Regions from separate parts of the Homo sapiens genome. Here all the other regions are linked to region 1. Evidence: promoter capture Hi-C in 16 types of primary human blood cells and fetal thymus (Javierre and others, 2016). All regions are on one chromosome and are shown on one strand. The core of a region is centred on a gene start or on the middle of the fragment in contact, and the rest is flanking DNA. Distances in the headings are between cores, read along the strand shown.

What was found. The method cuts DNA at HindIII sites, captures the fragments that hold promoters and counts their contacts. A CHiCAGO score of 5 or more calls a contact.
Region 2: a contact is called between a fragment that was not itself captured here and the fragment with the promoter of PAX5 in region 1, in 3 of 17 cell types (naive B cells, total B cells and megakaryocytes). The highest score is 11.1, in naive B cells.
Region 3: a fragment that was not itself captured here is called in contact with the fragment with the promoter of PAX5 in region 1 in 2 of 17 cell types (total B cells and naive B cells); the score reaches 10.4 in total B cells.
Region 4: a fragment that was not itself captured here is called in contact with the fragment with the promoter of PAX5 in region 1 in 5 of 17 cell types (naive B cells, total B cells, endothelial precursors and 2 more); the score reaches 17.3 in naive B cells.

The regions. Positions count from the first base shown.
Region 1 is chr9:37,032,769-37,035,745 of GRCh38, reverse strand. It overlaps PAX5 (paired box 5), which reads left to right and starts at 1,478. Exons shown (of 10, transcript NM_016734.3): 1 at 1,478-1,760. The coding sequence starts at 1,715. RefSeq lists silencers at 1-65, 1,146-1,325, 1,592-1,712, an enhancer at 766-815 and a promoter at 894-1,332. The HindIII fragment of the contact is 10,408 bases long and covers 1-2,977 here.
Region 2 is chr9:37,244,073-37,247,140 of GRCh38, reverse strand. The region is part of intron 2 of ZCCHC7 (zinc finger CCHC-type containing 7); the gene reads right to left. Among named protein-coding and RNA genes, the nearest start is that of ZCCHC7, 130 kb to the right of the region's middle. The HindIII fragment of the contact is 6,079 bases long and covers 1-3,068 here.
Region 3 is chr9:37,222,932-37,225,809 of GRCh38, reverse strand. The region is part of intron 2 of ZCCHC7 (zinc finger CCHC-type containing 7); the gene reads right to left. Among named protein-coding and RNA genes, the nearest start is that of ZCCHC7, 100 kb to the right of the region's middle. The HindIII fragment of the contact is 4,326 bases long and covers 1-2,878 here.
Region 4 is chr9:37,266,082-37,269,234 of GRCh38, reverse strand. The region is part of intron 2 of ZCCHC7 (zinc finger CCHC-type containing 7); the gene reads right to left. Among named protein-coding and RNA genes, the nearest start is that of LINC01627, 130 kb to the left of the region's middle. The HindIII fragment of the contact is 5,335 bases long and covers 1-3,153 here.

The DNA of each region.
Region 1 (2,977 bases), core at 229-2,728:
AGATGGCCAAAAATCAAATCTCGGGGTAGGGACACGGGCCCGCAGGCTGCAGGGAGGAGGCGGCGCTGGGGAACTGCGCAGACCACTTGGTGGGGGGGCCGCCCGGGAATCCACAGCCACATTTCCGATTGTGGCGAAATCTGCTCAGTGGATATGTGATGTCCAGTTGCCGCCGGGGGCCCCCCTTTCCTCGAGCTCTAGGCTCTTCCCCCTAGGTTGCGACCCAGCCTCGTGACCACCCCCTCCAAAAAACAAACAACACTCTTGCTGAGGACGATTCACTCTCCAAAACTGCCATTGTCCGGCGGGCCAGGAGTCCTCCTACGGAGCGCTCCCCCGCCCTGGAGAACCTTTCCCCTGCGACCACCCCGCTGCAGGGCCCCACAGGCTTTCAGTGGCTAGGCCCAGCAGCTGAACTAACTCAAGGCTGGGGAGGGGAACAGGGAGGGGAGGCTTGAGTCTGGCCCGAAGAGAGAGGGCTGGACATGCCACACCTCTGCTCGGTCTCTGTGGATCTGATTTCCTCTCTGGAATCAAGTCCTGGGGCTCTGGGACTCCACAACGTCTCAGGGCTCGAGGGCAATGCGATTCCACTTATGGGCCGGGGTAAGGTGTCTGGAACTCCCGCCAATCTCCAGAAACTACTGAGATGTTCTGCTCTGCCCGGGTGCTCCAAAGCGGAAGCCCGGATTTCATCTCCAGTATTTCACAGCTTAACCTCCATGCTCTGGGCCAGAATGGAACTTGATGTGGGGAGGGGTTCTGGGACTAGAAGACTGGATGGGACCTGGGGGCTTTAGGGATCTGGCGCTGCCCTAGGGTCAGGGGCCCAGCAATAGTCAGGACCCCAACAAATTGGGGTGGGGGTTGGATGGCTGGGAACCCTGGGGTCGGGCGCCGCCCTAGGGGTGAATCGGAGTAAACCGGAACGTCGCCTCGGTGCCTGGCAACACTGCCAGCCTTTGCAACCCCTTTCAAAAGCACCTGCTTGGCCGAGCAGTTAATTTCTTCAAAAACAAAAACCCGGCCTGCGCTCGTCTAAGCAGCGGGGTTTGCACATGGAGATGTCACAGGCCCCGCGCACAGCGCAGAGGGCCGCGACCCCCAAGCGCATGTCTTAATAGAAGGTGCGGCTGGAAGACCCGGGCTCCCGGGCTCCGCTTCGGTCTGCCCCTTCCCGTAGGTGCGCTGGCTAGCGCCCGGCGCAGGCTGAAGCCTTCCTTCCCTCCCCCCAACCCCTATAAAAGTCTGGGGCGGCGCGGCAGCAGCACTGCTGCTCTCCCGGCTTCCCGCTCTACTCCGGCCGGGCCGGGTCCGCCACGTCTGGCGCGCTGAGCAGGCCCGGCCGCGCAGCGCCTACCCTTTCCTCGCTCCGGGCCGGCAGTGTGGGGCGGCGCGCTGGGGGCGCGGCGTGTCTGGGGACATCTTGTGATGTTGGCGAGAACAGGACATGATCTCACATGGCGAGAAGCTCTTTAGTTCCTTAATCATTTCACGGTGCCTTCGGACGCTTTTTTTCCACCTAAAACGTTTAGTTTCAGCTCAGTGATCAGCTACCCCAGCTCGGCGGGGGAGCGGAAGGCTTGAATTATTCCGACCTGTGAGCGGCCCCTGGCACCAAAAAAAAAAAAAAAAAAAAAAAAAAAAGAAAAAAAAAGGCACAAAAAAGTGGAAACTTTTCCCTGTCCATTCCATCAAGTCCTGAAAAATCAAAATGGATTTAGAGAAAAATTATCCGACTCCTCGGACCAGCAGGACAGGTAGGACCGCGATACGGGCTCCAGATGTGCAAACTCCGGGACACGGCCAGGCCTTGGTCCCCACGCAGGGTGACCCTGGAGGAGGAGGGGGCGCGCCGCATTTTCGTAGAGACTGTCTAACTGCGGCGTGTTTGTTATGTTTTTTCACCTATCTGTTCACACACTTCTGCATCAGTCCAAATATCTGTGAGTTTGTCTGTGTTTTTCTCTGTTTCTGAATGTTCACGCTGGCGTCCTTCCGGGGGTCTGCAAGTTAGGGCCTGTGTGTTTATATAAGGGACTCAGTGTGTTCATTACAGTATATGTATTTTTAAAAGATGTAAAAATATATGAGTTTGTGTCCAAAAGTTGTTTGCCTGTGTGTGTGTGTGTGTGTGTGTGTGTGTATCTTTATACTCGTGGGGTATTCGTGTGTGTTTATAAGTTAGTACTTGTGTATATTCTTTTGGGTATCCAAAATGTGTGTCTACTATGAGTGTTATTTATGTAATTCGGAAATATCTGAGTGTACATCCACTATTTAAAGGGTCTGCATTCACCTGTTATATCCCAAGTGATTTTTGGATGTGAGAAAGAAGTGGCTACACTGACCTTTCCATTTTTGGATGTCAACGGCTGTCCGATGCATACACGCCAATGTTCACATTGTGTCTCTAGGCAAACTCCTAGACGTGGGTCTGGGGCCTATGGAGATCCGTGGTGTTTAGCATGTGCATTGTAAGGCCCAGTGTCCATTCTATTGGGAGATAGGACCAGGAATGAAGGTGTGAATTCAGGGCATGCAGCCTCTTGGTGTGCAGTGAGCACTGTTCAGGCTACCATTTGTACAAACAGGTCTCCTGTGGCAGGCACAACCTTGCAGATGACAGCGGACACCTGTAGGGTTAGTTGTGACATTTCTAGGGACCCCCAGCCTACATTCACTTTCACCTAGACAAGCCTCTGACACTGGCGTGTGTATTTGTGTGTACACACAGACACACACACACTGTGTCCTCAGGTTTTATCCTGTGGGTGCCGCACCAGTGGAGGAGAGCACAGTGGGTGGATGCATGTGCATAGTCTGGGCATTCAGCTCTAGGGCCTGTATGCGCACAGGCCTCCCTGGCTTAGGTCCCCATGTGCCTCCCACAGGCCTGAGAAGTAGGTAGCAGGATGTGTTTATGTCTGAGAGGAGATAGCAGGGACAGTAGGCCTCCATCTGCCCTGAGGCATGA
Region 2 (3,068 bases), core at 41-2,540, 210 kb before region 1:
TTGAACTCACAGAAGTAGAGAATAAAATGGTGGTTACCAGGAGTTTGGTGGAGAGGGGGTTGGGGAGGTATCTGTCAAAGATAACAAAATTTCAGTTAGATAGGAAGAATAAGTTAAAGATATCTGTTGTACAACATGGTGAGTACAGTTAACGATACACTGTATTCTTAAAAATTGCTAAGAGAGTAGGTTTTAAGTGTTCTCATCACAAAAAACAGGTATGTGAGGTAATACATATGGTAATCATCTCAATTTAGCCATTTCACAATATATACAGTCGTCCCACAGTATCCAGAGGTTCCAAGGTTCCAAGATGCCTCAGCTACCAAAATCTATGGATGCTCCTGCAATCAGTCCTGTAGAACCCATCGATACAAAAAGTTGACTTGCAAATATATTTTCCACCCATGGTTAGTTGAATCTGTAGATACCGAGAGCCAACTGCACATATTTCAAAACATCATGTTGTACATGTTAAATACGTACAACTTTTAATATGTCAATTTAGAAAAGGGGAAAAAATACATGATTCTTTTTCCTGCCCCAAATGATGGTCCACACTGGCCCAGAGTTTACTACACCAGTTTTATAGCAATGTGTTTAGTAAATGCACTCTTCATTATAGTTTATAATATCCTATACTGGTATAGTACATTAAATATTTCACAATGCATTCACATTTGAAACATAATGAATTAGGTAACAAAATCATTATCATACGCTGATGCTAAAGATGGAGAGCCCTGAAGACCCTTGTGGACTCCTGTGGGTTCAGTTAACATTCTCATGCTGATTACCTTCCTAATCTATATATCTAGCTTCATTCTCTCTTGAGCTTGGCTCTATATTCATATATCCAGTTCCTTTCTGGACACCTCAAATTAGATCATCCACAAGCACCTCAAATCAAATGTTAAAAACAAACTATTATTTGTCCACTTTCAAACTTGATTCTCCTCTAGTATTCACTATCCAGAAGAACAGTACCATGACCTCTCATCTATTTTAGAAAGGAATCAGTCTCTTTAAGTTTGATCTTGCCATCATCTGCCCAACCCCTGCTATTCTTTGCCTTCTGCCAAACTGACTTGTAAATTGTAAATATGATCCTGTCACTATCTTACTAAAAATATCTTTGAGATATTCTTGATTTTTCTGATCGTTCTTATAAATCCCTTCATAATCTGGTCTCACTTTACCAATCCAGACTAATGTCTCACTATTCTCCATTACCTTTAAAACCTATGGTCCAGCCACACCAAATTATACATAAATCTCTTAAGCAATAGCAATAGGGCTATATACCTGCTATTCTCTGAACCTGCAACAACACTCTCTCTCTTCCAGGCCTTCCTCTGTTTAGCTTATTTTAATTATTCTTCAGGTCCTAATTCAGTTTTGGGAAATCAGATAAGACTTCTGGAGGAAAGAAGTCTTGGAGTAAAGAAGTCTTACCTGATTTCCCAAAAGTGAATTCAGAGTCCTAGACGTCCCCATGATGTCCTATATTTTCATCTATCAAGGTACTTACACTTTGTATTGTAAGTATCCATTTATGTGTCTGACTCTCTCTTAGGCTACGAACTAGTTACTCTTAGGCAATAACACATTTCTACTGCTTAACATTGTCCACTCTGCACAGGTAGGTGCTCAACAATAGTTTGTTGGATTGAATTTAGTTTACTGTTATATGGCTTCTAAGAAATTATTTGCTTATCTAATAATTTGCTAGTATATTTTAAAATCACAATTTCAACTGTTTAAATGGAAATTCCTTTCTTTTATTTCAGTCTTTTAATTTTTAAAAATAGCTTCTTCTTTAAAGTACTAGAATATTGAACATTAAAGAAGAGTTACATATCCTTTCTATTGAAACATTTCAAGGAGAGGATGAAAATCTGAAACTACTGACTATAACTGTGTTCAAAACATAAAAATAAAAAATAAAGTTTATCTTTAAAGTTACTCAATTTATGCCAAATATAAAATTTTATCTATCTAAAATATTTATCTACTTTGCACTCAGAATCTGACATACATATTACTGTATTTGAAAATCAGTCTTTTCTAAAAATTTGATTTGTCTTAAAAACCAAGTCATTTTCTACAAGAATAATTTCCACTTTGATCCCATAAAATCAGTGAGAAAAAGGGGTTTATATACTCATATGATATATTAAAATAGGATTTGATTCACTTTACAGACAACTTTTCTTCCAAGTGAGATATATCTATCATGTTTTGGTAGGCTTCTTATGGGGAAATTAGCTATTATAAATTATTCAATGGAACAAATGCTCTCCACCATTCTTCACTACTGACTTAAAAAAAAATTCAACACTGGATTCTATTCCACAGTGAATATATATGAAAAATACACAGTGGCCCTCACTGATCAATCATGGTAGAACCCTCATGACACAGCCATAGCCAACAAACAGTGCAAAACATTTACCACTTCTTTTTAGAACAAAAGGAAAAATGTGAAAATGGCAGGATTACTTGGGTTTTAACAGGAAAAAACTGTCTTGGCAAAAATAATTCATTATTATTCACCCTCTCTTAATACATGAAGATTAAAGGCCTCCCTCACTTCCAGGAAGTTTATTATAAATCAAATCATATTTAAAAACATTAAGAGTTAGTTCCCTTTTAAATAACTCATATGGATAAGCTATTTTAAAATAAACTGTTTTATAAAATAAATTAACTTCCATTTATGTAATTAATTGGGCTATTTTAAAAACCATTCTGCCTAAAACAAAATATAACCCTCACTATACTATGGTATATTCAGTAGGAAATCCAAGTTGCTCTAAAATAAAAAATGTTTCTATTTAAAAAACAAGGGCTGGGGCAGTCTTTTTCTTCTTTCTTTCTTTTTTTTTTTTTCTTTAAACGAAGACATTCCTGCACAATAAAAATTCACTTAACTTTACTCCATAAGTACTTGACCTGTACCACAAAGCAGCTCAGGCTTGCAAAATGGCTAGTATGAGAAGCAAAAAGAGTAAGTTTGTAAGTCGAGCTGGGCAGCAACCATATGGCATTACAAAGGACCACTAGGA
Region 3 (2,878 bases), core at 130-2,629, 190 kb before region 1:
GAATTGGATTAAGAAAGTGCCCCTTGTACTCCTAGTTTGCAAGACTTTTGTTTATTGTTTTAATCTATCATGAACAGGTGATAAACTTTGTAAAATGCTTTATCTGCATCTATTGAGGAAAACATTTTTTTCCTGTTAGTCTGTTAATACAGTAAATAATGTTGCTTAATTTTCACGTTAAACCAACCTTTCTTCCTAGAATGAACTTCACTTGATCATGACATATTAATCTTTTAATATATTACATAATTCATTTCCTAATATTTTGTTAATAATTTTTTGTGTCTATATTCATGAAGGATCTAGATCTGTAGCTTTCTGGTAGTATCTTGCCTGGGTTTTGTGTAATAGTAATACAAATCTTATAAAATTAGTTTGGAAGTGTTACCTTATATATTCTGGAAGAGTTTGTAAAGAATTGGTATTATTCCTTCTTTAAAGTGTGATATAATATACTACTAATGCTATCTGGACTTGGATGTTTCTCTACTGGAAGATTTTAATCTAACAATTCACCTTCTTTAATAAGACCATTTAGGTTATCTATTTCTTCTTAATTTTAACTTTCAAGGAATTTGTCCATTTCATCTAAGTTATTGAATTTATTGATTTTCCATAAAATTTAGGATCTGTGTGATGTTCCTCCTTGCATTACTAATGATGGTAATTTATGTCTTCTTTCATTTTATTCCTGATTGGTCTTCAATTCTGTACTTGAATGTTTATAGAATTATTCACAATAGGAATAAAATAATTCAATAATAATCCAGGGATAAAATGAATTATTCTTTCTCTGAATTCCTGATTGGTCTGGCTTAAATGTTCTTCAGCTTTACTGCCAAAACATGGAATGCAGTGAAAGCCCTGCTAAGAGAGAAATGTATAGGTGTAAATGTTTCGCATGAGCTCCACGGATCGCTACACCTGCTCCTTTCCAGTTATTCTTTCTTCAGCCTTGGGTAATTTCTTGTCACACATGCACAGATGAGTATTCGCTCAGACTCTCAAGAGGTTCATTGAGTTTTGTGGAGATTTGTGGATCTCATCACTTCTGTCCTGATGCATCTCACTACTCTCTAGTAATTTTATCCACAAATTCTAGACACCTTGGCCTCCTTGTACTTCAAAATCTATCTCTTCAATGTAGTGTGATGCCACCTGCCCAAGATCTCAGTATGTCTGCCTTCCCTGTACCAAAACTGTCTCTAGGCAATAAGGTGGGAAGAGCTACAGAAGTCACTTTATTTCCCTTCTAAGATTAGTGTCCTATACTGGTTATTATCCAATGTCTATAAACAATTATTTTATTTTGTAGACTGCTTTTCTAGTTTGAAGCAGGAGTGTAAATTCAGTCCCTGGGACTCTGTCATGGCTAGAAGTAGGAGTCTACATTACTCCTATGTTCTTTAAAAATTAAAATACACACATATACACACATGACCTGAATCTTAGGGGAAGAAACACAGACTTCCAATTCCTGGGATAGTTGCCACACTGATTTTAAAAAATTGTACACTTTAAGGCTTTTGGTAACAATTACCAGTACATGGAGCTAATGTCTTTGGATAATTTTTCATTGATCTCTGTATTAAAAATGATTTTGTAAGTTTAACCTGAATTCTTAAGAGTATCTCAAACTCTCGCAAGCGGTATAATCAATTATAAAAAGTTTTTTCCTTTTAAAAAATTAATATACTGTTTGTGACCCCTTTATTAATATTTAAAGACAAAAATCTCCTTTTACCTTAAAAGAATAAAAATAAAAAAGAACCAGAACCTAAGTTTTACATTTTCAGGGTATAAACAAGCATTTGATAAACCTCTGTAATCCTATCACCCAAAGAAGACCACTTCAATTTTTAATAGAACATTGTCTTTTTTAGGCATAAATTTTTTTAAATGAAAAATGGGTGCATGCTGTTTTACTACCTATATTTTCACTTGTTAAATCATAATATTCTATTAAATATTTGTTCAGTCACTGTCAATGGTTATAGACTATACCACAGCAAACAATTCATTACTATTAAACATCTGGGTTGTTTCCAACTCTGTAGTAAAGACCTTACATACACTCTATTATTCCTTAGAACAAATTCCTGTAAGTGAAACGTGACATTATTTTTTGTCATTTTTCTCTTTTACTGTGGTAAAATATATAAAACGTAAGATTTGTCATCTTAACCGTTTTAAAATGTACAACTCAGTATCATTAATTATACTCACAATGTTGTGCAACCATTGTTACTATTTTCAAAACACTTTTATCACCACCAAGGAGAAACTACCCTTTAAGTAACCTCCCCCAACTTCTTTCTCCCACCCAACCCCCAGTAACCTTTCATATATTTCTTTACCTATTAATCTGCCTATTCAAGATATTTCATTTATGTGAGCTCATACAAAATTTGTCCCTTTATGTCAGGCTTACTGCACTTAACACAAAGTTTTCAAGGTTCATCCATGTTGTACCATGTATTAGATTTTCATTACATTTAATGGCTGAGTAACATTCAGTTGTATGTAGATACCACATTATGGTTTTCTATGCATCTTTTAATAGACACGGGTTGTTTCCACCTTTTGGATATTGTGAATAATCCTACTGTAAACATTCAAATACAAGTATCTATTACATTTAAGACTTTTTTTTTTAAACTGTTCCTTGCGTAGCAGGGCTACCTCATAGGCAGTGTGCCCACAGTAGCCACATTTAAGACTTTTGGTAACTATGGCCCAATTGCCTTTCAGCAAGAAAGTCACTAAAACTCATAGCCATATACATACATACATACACACATATATATATGTATACGAATGCTCATTTTATCATGATCTGCCATCTTAACAGATTTAAATGGCACTTAGATTTTTATTA
Region 4 (3,153 bases), core at 384-2,883, 230 kb before region 1:
TCAAAACCTTAACATGGCCTACAATGCCTGAAATTTCTGATCTTTACTTACTCTTCCAGCCTCATCTTGCCCTACATGCTCTCTCTCACACTCTTTCAAGCCACAATGGCCTACCTTCAGGACAGCAAGCAAATAATTCATCCCTTCTAGTAGATAGGGTGCACATGTTATTTCCTTGGATCAAAACACTCTTTGCCTCACCATTTCGACTAGTTAATTCTTTTGGATTTCAGCTTAAACGTCACCATAAAAGCCTTCCTTGGCCTCCATACTACGTTAGAATATTATACACTCTCATACTACTGTTTTATCTTTCCCTTATAGCAGTCTGGGTCACTTCTTATCCCTAACATAGCATACAGTAGTATTCAATACATTTGTTGAAAGACCACATGAATAGAGTAGTGAAGGTGATGGCACCCTATTCAGAATTAAATGCCAGAATTGACAACAATAAAGTTTCACAGCTGAGAACAGCATTAGCCCCTCGGAAAGAGTAGAAATTTTGCGGCCGGGCGCGGTGGCTCACGCCTGTAATCCCAGCACTTTGGGAGGCCGAGGTGGGCGGATCACAAGTTCAGGAGATCGAGACCATCCTGGCTAACACGGTGAAACCCCGTCTCTACTAAAAATACAAAAAATTAGCTGGGCATGGTGGCGGGCGCCTGTAGTCCCAGCTACTTGGGAGGCTGAGGCAGGAGAATGGTGTGAACTTGGGATGTGGAGCTTGAAGTGAGCCCAGATCGCGCCACTGCACTCCAGCCTGGGCAACAGAGCGAGACTCTGTCTCAAAAAAAAAAATAGAAATTTTGCTTATTTTTTTTTTTTTCTGTGAGGACAGGGCTCAAGAGTACATTCATGACTTTTGAAGTTTACTACTTTGTTTCTTTGCAAATAAACACCTGATAGGTCTGGAACTTCTGCAAACCTTATTGGCCAGGTAGAGAAATCTGGTAGTGAGTAAAATCTAATTATCTTATAATAGTAGTTGGTTTTGAGAGCACATTAGAGATACCAAGAGCTTTCACAAAAAATTCACACAGAATTTGTTTTGTATTAGGCTCTGTGTTAAGCACTGTGGGGAACAAAAAATCTGAAACACAGTCCCTGCTCTGAGGAACTTCCAATCAAGTTAGTGATGGTACTTGAATGGCATTATAAGAAATGCTAATAGGGCTTAGAGAAAGAGAATCTTGGGTTGATGTGATCACAGAGGAAATCTTCAACTTCAAGAAAATGCAGGCTGGGCCCAATGGCTCACACCTGTAATCTCAGGTCAAGGTGAGAGGATCCCTCGAGCCCAGGAGTTCAAGACCAGGCTGGGCAACATGGTGCGACCCTGTCTCTATAAAAAATGAAAAAATTAGGCCGGGCGCGGTGGCTCACGCCTGTAATCTCAGCACTCTGGGAGGCCGAGGCGGGTGGATCACAAGGTCAGGAGATCGAGACCATCCTGGCTAACACGGTGAAACCCCATCTCTACTAAAAATACAAAAAATTAGCCAGGCGTGGTGGCAGGCACCTGTAGTCCCAGCTACTCGGGAGGCTGAGGCAGGAGACTGGCGTGAAGCTGGGAGGCGGAGCTTGCAGTGAGCCGAGATCATGCCACGGCACTCCAGCCTGGGTGACAGAGCGAGACTCTGTCTCAAAAAAAAAAAAAAAAAAAAAGAAAAAATTAGCCGTGCATGGTAGTCCCAGCTACCCAGGAGGCTGAGGTGGGAGGATCACTTGAGCTTGGGAGGTCGAGGTCGAGGCTGAAGTGAGCTGTGATCATGCCACTTCATTCCAGGCTAAGAGACAGAGCAAGGCCCTGTTCTTCTCCCCTGTCTCCCCCCCACCACCAAATGGGAGACAGAGATGCAATTTCATTAATAGAAATCATAAATATAAAAAGAGAAGAACACTTTCAGCAAGAGGGAATGCTAAATACAAGCGACAGAGAATTCTGTTCTAGGGCTGAGTATACTGTTTTGGCTAGTAAACTAAGAAGATTCATCTCACCTTAATCCTTAGTTCTGTCTCTAAGGATCAAAACAGGTCATCAGAATAGAGAATCAAAGACTTTTTATATTATACTAATTATCTTAGCCAAGAAATGATGAGGATTAATAAACTTTGCAACCCATCTTCCAAAGCCTTTGAAACTGGGCCTGAATGGATAAATTAATTGTACAGGCATATCCCACAGACTGTATTCCGGATAGTATACCTCTCTCTCTCTCAATATAACATTTTTTTGACCATTTATACAGAAAAACTTAAATTTATTTCCCAAAAATTCAGTATGCATGGGAAAAGTCTCAAGTTATCTTCCAAATAACACTGGTATAACATATACATCACTGTTAGACTTTGTTTTTTGAGACAGAGTCTTGCTCCATTGCCCAGGCTGGAGTGCAGTGATGCAATCATTGCTCACTACAGCCTTGATCATCCCGGCTCAAGCTATCCTCCAACCTTAGCCCCCCAAGTAGCTAAGATTACAGGTGTGTACCACTATACCTGGTTAATTTTTCTGTTTTTTGTAGAGATGGAGTCTTGCTATATTGCCTAGGCTGGTCTCAAACTCCTGGGCTCAGGTGATCCTCCCACCTCAGCCTCCCAAAGTACTGGGATTACAAGCATGAGCCACCATGCCAAGCTGGTAGACATTTTTAAAACTGAGTCTAGTGCCAACATGCTTAGCATCATAAAGAGACAATTAAAAATTAATAACAGGAGTGTAAAGCTCTATTTTTATATATTTTTAAAGCTGTATTTTAAAATGTTTTACCCTAAAGCATTAACTACTTTCCCTGATGATTTATCAAATCCTGTCAAGAACTTTATAGCTCTTTACACATCCCTAAATTTAAAAAAACAAATAAATTTACAGTTGTACTATGAGCTCCTCTGAGTTTCATAGTTTTGTCTGTAATAGTTCATTCTTCCTTTGCCCATTTTGGCCATACCATCATTTCTTGATACCTAAGTGGCATGGTGTGCAGAATCTTCTTTAATATGGTAACTAAACTTTACATATTAAGCATTTGCATTTGGGAAGGTCATTCTGTTTTTTTGGATGAACTATATAAATGAAGTAGGTTAAATCATTTTAGTTTAAAAAAGGAATTAAAGTGTTGTTTTTACCATATTGATACAGTAAATACAGTT